3 separate regions of the Homo sapiens genome follow, and all the other regions are linked to region 3. Evidence: promoter capture Hi-C in human tissues and cell types (Jung and others, 2019). All regions are on one chromosome and are shown on one strand. The core of a region is centred on a gene start or on the middle of the fragment in contact, and the rest is flanking DNA. Distances in the headings are between cores, read along the strand shown. Region 1 has its middle 3.7 kb from the start of FRYL. Region 2 overlaps OCIAD1 (OCIA domain containing 1). Region 3 holds the start of ZAR1 (zygote arrest 1).

Evidence for each region. Contacts are between HindIII fragments. The study calls those that stand out against the background at their distance.
Region 1: a contact is called between a fragment that was not itself captured here and the fragment with the promoter of ZAR1 in region 3, in 1 of the 25 tissues and cell types used here (dorsolateral prefrontal cortex).
Region 2: a contact is called between a fragment that was not itself captured here and the fragment with the promoter of ZAR1 in region 3, in 1 of the 25 tissues and cell types used here (stomach).

What each region holds. Positions count from the first base shown.
Region 1 is chr4:48,782,566-48,785,345 of GRCh38, reverse strand. No RefSeq gene overlaps it. Among named protein-coding and RNA genes, the nearest start is that of FRYL, 3.7 kb to the right of the region's middle. The HindIII fragment of the contact is 3,640 bases long and covers 1-2,780 here.
Region 2 is chr4:48,844,517-48,847,286 of GRCh38, reverse strand. All of the region lies in intron 4 of OCIAD1 (OCIA domain containing 1), which reads right to left. Among named protein-coding and RNA genes, the nearest start is that of OCIAD1-AS1, 14 kb to the left of the region's middle. The HindIII fragment of the contact is 4,889 bases long and covers 1-2,770 here.
Region 3 is chr4:48,488,930-48,491,681 of GRCh38, reverse strand. It overlaps ZAR1 (zygote arrest 1), which reads right to left and starts at 1,430. Exons shown (of 4, transcript NM_175619.3): 1 at 428-1,430. The coding sequence starts at 1,390. It overlaps SLC10A4 (solute carrier family 10 member 4), which reads right to left. Exons shown (of 3, transcript NM_152679.4): 3 at 2,156-2,752. The coding sequence ends at 2,743. RefSeq lists silencers at 1,154-1,233, 1,284-1,533 and an enhancer at 1,759-2,296. The HindIII fragment of the contact is 11,917 bases long and covers 1-2,752 here.

The DNA of each region.
Region 1 (2,780 bases), core at 155-2,654, 290 kb before region 3:
TAAAGTGATCTGCCTGTCCTTGGCCTTCCAAAGTGTTGGGATTACAAGCATGAGCCCCCACACCTGGTCTGGCTTTAAAATATTCTTATTTTATGAAATAATGAGAATAGATAGAAGTTTTATTTATATTTATTTTTGTACCTTACACGGAAAAATTAAAAAGTTGATAAGCTTATGTCAGTTCCTAAAAATTCCTTGGAAATTTTACCAGTTCATGAAATAAAAAAGTCTGAGAACCAGTGATCTTTTACTAATTGATAAGATAGATTTGCAATAAAATATCAAGTAATTAGAATGCTCCTAGAATGGTCTTGTGGTTAATTAGATTTTCACATTGTAGGTTAACTTTTTGGTTTCAGCTGTGCTCATTCAGCTCAATTTGACATGCTGTACTGAAAGCCTCACTTATGCCAGTCATCATACTAAATGATGCCCATGCGATGATACATAATCCTGGCTTTGCTCTGTGAGAACAAACCAGACTAGTACAAGAGACAGGAAAAGAAACATTTAAGTTCTGTATTCAAAGTGATACCTATAACAAAATAGTATATATGTAGTAGAAAAGTAGCACAAAGAATAATTAAGTCAAGGAAGGGAGTGCAACTAGAGAAGACTGCATAAAGAGGGCAATGCTTCTATTGGGCCATCAGTTTGATGGATGGATTGAAGTGTCCTTCAGATGAGCAAAGAGGGGAAAGCTATTCTACACAAAGGGAATGGCATTGAAGCTTGAAAGAACATGATAGTTGATATTGAGAGAGCAGACACTTCCAGTGTCAAACGAGGGAGTGGTCAGGGAAGAAATTTGAGAAGAAGCCTATAGTCAGATTATAAAGAGACTTGTACGTTTTGCTGCGGTGTTTATATTCAGAATGTGCCTAGAGAAATCTCTAAAGGGTTTTAAGCAAGAGATAATTGGAAAGCTTTCTAAAAATGTATTAATATCCACATTCTACCCAGTAGGTGAAATATACTGAACACAATTGAATTTTTTACTGATAATTGCAGACCTTTCAGTGACATACTCAATGAATATCAGTTCTTATTTTACAAAGCAACACATTTAACTTTAGAGAGTGAAGGACTTGGACCTCCTCTGGGAGACCTAGGAGACTGTGGAACTATTTCCTGGAATTTTTTCATTAAATCAAACTACTGTGACTTATTTTCTTTTAACTTATTCTCATCAATATTAATGGGACAGGGGAAATGATTTTGGTTGACAGCTTCCATTAGTTGGATTTTTTTTTTGAAAAAAAAAAAAAAAAAAGACAGGATCTTGCTATGTTGCCCAGGCTGGCCTTGAACTTCTGGGCTCAAAGCAATCTTCCCATCTCAGCCTCCCCACTAGCTGAGATTACAGGTGTGCACCATCACACCATGCTCTGGATTTTTAAAAATTTTACTATAGAAAAATCTCTGGTGAATACATAGTCTCCACGCAAGAGCTTTGAAGGAAATAAAGGGTAAAAACTGTGCCCCTTATAGGTGGAGATTCATGACATACTCTCTGGAGAATGGATACATATTCATCATTTTCTCCCTATTCTTTTTTTTTTTTAGACGGAGTTTCACTCTTGTTGCATAGGCTGGAGTGCAATGGCAACATCTCAGCTCACCGCACCTCCGCCTTCCAGGTTCAAGCGATTCTCCTGCCTCAGCCTCCTGAGTAGCTGGGATTACAGGCACGCGCCACCCCGCCCAGCTAATTTTGTATTTTTAGTAGAGACGGGGTTTCACCATGTTGGTCAGCCTGGTCTCGAACTCCTGAGCTCAAGTGATTTACCTGCCTCGGCCTCCCAGTGCTGGGAATACAGGTGTGAGCCACTGCACTTGGCCCCCATTTTCTCACTATTCTTAACACATAATAGTCGCTATATAAGTGTGTGGTGAACTGGAAAGAATTTCCAATAGGAATGGTAACATAATTTTTCAGAGGAAAAATAATTACTGGTTAAACTATGGAACCTCTTTGAGGGGTACATTTGCATATAAACAGGGAGAATAGTGATCATAACATATTTCACTTTTTTTGTATTTTTTATTTTTGACACGGAGTCTTGCTATGTCATCCAGGCTGGAGTGCAGTGGTGCGATCTCAGCTCACTGCAACCTCCGCCTCCCGAGTTCAAGCCATTCTCCTGCCTCAGCCTCCCGAGTAGCTGGAATTACAGGCATGCGCCACCACGCCCGGCTAATTTTTGTATTTTTAGTAAAGACGAGGTTTCACCATGTTGGCCAGGCTGGTCTTGAACTCCTGACCTGAGGTGATCTGCCTGCCTCGGCCTCACAAAGTGCTGAGATTACTGGCACGGTGTGAGCCATGGTGCCTGGAGGTATTTCACCATTTAAAAGACTTTAACAAACATCTATATACAATAATTTAAAAAGCTTTATTTACATTAGCACATTGGAGAAGGGTGTGTGTGTGTGTGTGTGTGTGTGTGTGTGTGTGTGTGACAGAGTGAGACTCTGTCGCCCAGGCTGGAGTACAGTGGTGCAATCTTGGCTCACTGCAACCTTCGCCTTTCGGGTTCAAGTGATTCTCCTGCCTCAGCCTCCCCAGTAGCTGGGATCACAGGCCTGTGACCATTCCCACCAGCTAATTTTTGTATTTTTTGCAGAGATGGGGTTTCGCCATGTTGCCCAGGCTGGTCTTGAACTCCTGGCCTCAAGTCATCCACCTGCCTTGGCCTCCCAAAGTGCTGGGATTACAGGCGTGAGCCACTGCACCCAGCCGAGAAATATTCTTTTTTTAAAGAGTGGGGATTGGGCTT
Region 2 (2,770 bases), core at 147-2,646, 360 kb before region 3:
TGGAAAAATGGTTAACAGACTTAAACAGATACTTCACAGAAAAAGATATGCTGAAATGAAGTATAAACAAATGGAAAGGTCTTCAACTTCATTGGTTACAGGGAAATACAAATTCAAGCCACAATGCAATCAATATTAGTGTTTATTTACCACAATGGCTAAAACATAAAAGACATAAAAATAGCTAGTGTTGGTGAGAATGTAGGAGTATACATTGGTCTAAATAGTTTGGTAATATCTACTAAAGCTAAATAAATATATACAAAATCTATGACCCAGCAAAATGTCTATCAAAAAGGCACCATATTCTTGGCAAAACTAATTGTAACAGTGAAAATTGAAAACTACCAATTATCAATGCACAGTTCAGATAGATAAACTGGTGTATTCACACAGAGGAAAACTATAGGGCAACTACATGCAACAATGTGGTTAAGTGCAATGATGTGCTGGTAAACCAGCACTCCCTATAAAAAGCTCTAATTTTAATGTTTGTCAGTTTCCATGGTGTAAAGCTACCAATTCTTTTTTTTTTTTTTTTGAGACGAGTCTCGCTCTGTCCCCAGGCTGGAGTGCAGTGGCGCCATCTCAGCTCACTGCAACCTTCGCCTCCTGGGTTCAAGCAATTCTCCTGCCTCAGCCTCCCAAGTAGCTGGGACTACAGGTGCACACCACCATGCCCAGTTAATTTTTTGTATTTTTAGTAGAGACAGGGTTTCACCATATTGGCCAGGATGGTCTCAATCACCTGACCTCATGATCCGCCTGCCTCAGCCTCCCAAAGTGCTGGGATTACCGGCATGAGCCACCGTACCCGGCCAACTACCAACACTTTAAAAACCAGCTTGCCAAAGTTCCCGAAAATTTAACAACCAATTCTCAGGAGCCAGTACAAACCAGTTCCAGCATGCTACTGGATGAATCTCACCATGTTGAAAGAACTTACATAAAAGAATATTTCAGTGTATGATTTCATGTAATTAAAGTACAAAAACAGACAACTAATCTGTGCCTTTAGCCTCAGTTCCTTCATTTATAAGAACTGGGATGACAATAGAAAAAGGAAGATGGTAAGAACATCTCTATTTTTACATTAAAAAGTTGTTCCTTCATACTGTCACCAACTAGTTATAGACCACTTACAACATAAAGGTACTACATACTGGATATTAACAGGAAACAGGACACACTCTTTACTCTCATGGAATTTACAGTCTAGAGAGAGAGTTAAGACAAAGATAATAGTGTCATGGTTGCTATTCATCCCCTCAAATATTTGAGTACTATGTGCACTATGTATGTCCTCTGTCAGGTGCTAGAAATAGCTTATTTTCCTAAGGAGAAGTAGCAAGAATGGAAACAAACAGATTTGTTGAAGGTTAACGCAATACTCTTTGTGACATATGGTTGCATTAATTATGCTGGCAGTACAGATGGAGGTAGATAGTTAATAAAGACATTTAAGAGCTAAAAGACATTAATTGGACAAGGCAGATAAGGGATAGATGTGAAGGATAATGTCCCAGTTTCCTGGATAGTACTAACACCACTCAGTCATGAAGGGAAAGGAGGAATTGGTTTTGTGGAAAATGGTTGAGTTCTGTTTGAGGAGCCTATAGAAGGGCCATACATATTATATATTATATCCAAAATATAGTAACACCAACATTTCCCAAACAACTAGACAAAAAAACCCATACAAGAATGTAAGCACCAAGAGTTAATGAATTTTTGTTGTTTAGTGCTATATAACAATGTATAGTACATATCAGACACTCAAAAAACATGAAACAGAGGAATCGCCTGAGGTAGGAGAAAAATCTTAGGAATATGCCATCATGGAAGCCAAGAGAATAGACTATTTCAAGAAAAACTGGTTAAAGTTATGTAACGTTGGTCAAGAACAAAAACTGTCCATTATATTTAAGCAACAAACAGGTTGTTTTTGAAAAGTTTGTTTTTGAACTTTTGAAAAGTTCCAATAAATGGTAGAACATATGGATAGTCTCACACTGACTGCAATGGGTTAAACGAAGTAAAAAGTGAAGGGCTCATTCATGAAGTCTGCCTCTGGCTTCAAATATGAGGCAGTTGGGAGTAGCTGGAAAAACAAATGAGGGAGGATTTTTTTTTCTTTTTAATGTTCTCAAGTTAGAGGAGACCTGAGCATGTTTAAATGGTTTTGGCAGATCAGGAAGAAACAGAAGGAACATCTAAGACCACGTGGAGTATGACACACTGTGGATGAAAGGGGATACAGGCAGCCCTCCATATGTACATGTTCTGCAACCAACTGCGGATAGAAAATATTTAGGAAAAAAAAAACTGCATCTATACTAAACATGTACAGACTTGTTTCTTGTCATTATTCCCTAAACAATACAGTATAACAACTATTTACATAGTGTTTACATAGTCTTAGGTATTATAAGTAATCTAGAGATGATTTACAGTATACAGGCAGATATGCACGTAAACTTTACTAGGCCGTTTTATATCAGAGACTTAAGCTTTTGTGGATTTTGGTATCCTCTGGAGGGTCCTGGAACCAATCCACACAGACACAAAAGGACCACTGTACAAAATGTCAGGGATTTTGATTAAATGCAAAATGTCTTGGTGGATTCCAAATTCTTTTCTTAAAGTCTCTCTCAATTTTTACCTTTTTTTTGAGACAGAGTCTCGCTCTGTTGCCCAGGCTAGAGTGCAGTGGCGCCATCTCAGCTCACTGCAGCCTCCGCCACCTGGGTTCAAGCGATTCTCCTGCCTC
Region 3 (2,752 bases), core at 181-2,680:
GTTTTTGCCACATCCAGTGCGGAAATGGGAGAGAGGGATCCTTGGGAATCGACTCTCCAGCCGGCAAGTGCTCCGAAGTTCAGTTGTGCCTACTGATAGGTAATCCAACCGTGCGGTCAGGGCTGGCCTATGCGCCCACTGCGCGAGGTTTACAGTGCAAATATGTGGGTTATAAGAACGTCCCAAGGGCGTCGCCCTGGCCAGCCCGTGGAGCAGCCGCCACGAGTAAGTCTGGATGTCGGGGACATGAGACTGTGCTGTCAAGGAAGACACCTATCGCGGTCATTGGCTGTCTCGGAAATACGGAAGTAGCCCACGCTTAGGGAAGCGCCGCACCTCCGAGTGCCCGAAGCAGTCACAGGGCCAGGCCCAAGGAAGACACCCGCACCCCCGGGCTCCCCTGTGCCCTGACCGCCCTAGGCTTTACCTGGAAGCGCAGCCGCTCCTTGCCCAGCTCCGGGCTCCGTGGCGACGGCCCCTCTCCCGCGACGGCCGCCTCCCGTCCGTCGCCGCCGTCTCGGGCCCTCCCCGCCGACGGAGGTTGCCCCGGGCTCCTTAGCGCCGACCGCGGAGCCGCCTCGCCCTCCTGGGCCTCTCGCGGCGGCAGCTCGGGACCGTCGGCCGGCTGCTCCCAGCTCGCTCGGACTGCGGCCTGGGCCTCGCCGTCGTCGTCGGACTGCGGCCGCCGGGGCGCCTTCTTCGTCCACACCTCCCCCTCCTCTGGGCCTTGAAGCCGCGCGGGCGGCGGCCCCCTCTCTCCGTCCGACGCCCCGGACCTCTGCTCGCCCGCCGCGGGCCCGGGCCCCTCCAGGAAGGCGGTGAGACGGCGCAAGGCCAGGGGCGAGTACACGGCGACGGTGCGCGGGAAGCGCATGGGCCGCGGGGCGCCGTTCTGGGGGCTGCCCTGCTCCAGGCCTCGACGGGATGGCTGCTGGGAGAAAGAGCCGCCACCCGTGGTGCCCTCGGCCCCGGGGCCGGCCGGGGACTCGGGGTCGCGGGCCCGGCGCTGCAGCGTGCGCCTCCCCAGCGAGCACTGTACCGCGGCGTCGATGCGCGGGCTCACCTGCACCGCCACGTCGCAGCTGCCGGCCCTGCGGGCGCGCGGCCCGAGACCCGGCCCCACCTGCGCCAGGAGAGCCATGAGCCGCTCCCGCTGGTAGCTGTCGAAGTACTCGGCGGCCGTCAGCCGCCCGCAGCCCGGGAAGGACAACGAGGCCGCGCCCGCCGAGCAGGGGGAGGAGGCGGGAAGGCAGCCCCTGCCGCGCTGCTGCCAGCTGCCGCCCGCCGCGCCCTTGCCCTTGGTGGCCGCGGGGTATGGGTACCGGTACGAGCAGGGGGGGCACGCCGGGAACACGTAACCGTCCAGCACCTCGTCCCCCAGGGCCGCCATGGGCGCACTGCTCCCGCCCGCCGCCGCACCCTAAATAGGCGACTTGCCCGGGCGGCCGAGCGGAGGCGGGGATGGCCCTCGGCGGGGGCTCGCACGCTGCACCGCCCTCCACGCCCTTCCTGCCACCGGCCCGCGTCCCCGCCGAGGGGGCCCCTCTTCGTCCTTCTCCCTACAGAAACTCTCCACGCCCGGATGTTGGCACAATGACCCTTAGATGATCTGGAAAGAGGGCTTTCTTTGTGATGAAAGGGCTGATCCGTAAGGGAACCAAGGCGCCCGAGGTGAGGAGGATTTCAATGAGAGAAACTCATCACCGGCATCAGCTGAGCCGGCTTCTCCCGGTGCCCTGATTGTTCCAGGTGCCTGCGCATCCCCCCCACCCCCGCTCCCTCACCGGGAAGCCGAGGCCAGGCCGGGTGCCTCTGGCTAAGTGAGCGAAAGTGCCAAGGTTTGGGAACTGTTCTGGGTCTATTACCCGTTAACTCAGATGATAAGTTTATTCTCAGAGCTGCTCTAAGAGGCTACCCACTGAGCCCCCTCGGCGAGTGCATGGAGAACCACCCAGGGATCTTCATCTAGGCGAATTGTTTTCTCCCCTGGAGCGTGTCCCTTCCCCCAGTCCCAGTGGTGACCGGGAGGTACCGTTTTGTTCTGCTCCAGAGCGGTTCTGAAAAATTTCCCAACCAAATCATTCCTACAAAAGATAAATTGATTTGGGGTGTGTTTACATAAATGCAGAAGACCAGTCGAAAAGAACATGGCTTGTCCACTAGAAAAATGTTGATTATTCATTAATAAGTAGATACCAGATCAAGTAATCAAATACATTAATGTAACTTTTCTCTGATACTGGTTTGACAAATACTATATTTCCTTATTTAACTGACCTGTTTTGGAATTCTTCTGAATACAGGTCAAAATTCAACATTGTGAGGAATTTTAAGTAGAGCAAGCACACTTTTTTTTTTACAACAATTACATTAAACTCAATTATGCTTTACAAAGATAGCTTGTTTTTCCTCATAGTGCGCCAAAATTCTACATTTCCAAGACCCTGTTTTCTAATAGATTCTGTATTTGCAACAGTCATAGAAATTGGTGATGGTAAAAACTAAAAACCACATTTAATTCAGGCTTCACGTTAGCCATTCCAGGTGCAAATTATATTACAGCATTGATTTGTAATTTGTGACAACGTTTGGTTAATACACCAGTGAACCTTAAAAAGATCAGAATTGTTACATGTATGATGTGAACCAGTGTTATCTTTTATGTTAACCATGTGCACTACCACAGGCTATAAATATGAAGCAATATTTCAGCAAGATAGAAGCTCCTGTGTATCTCCACATTTAGAGAGAA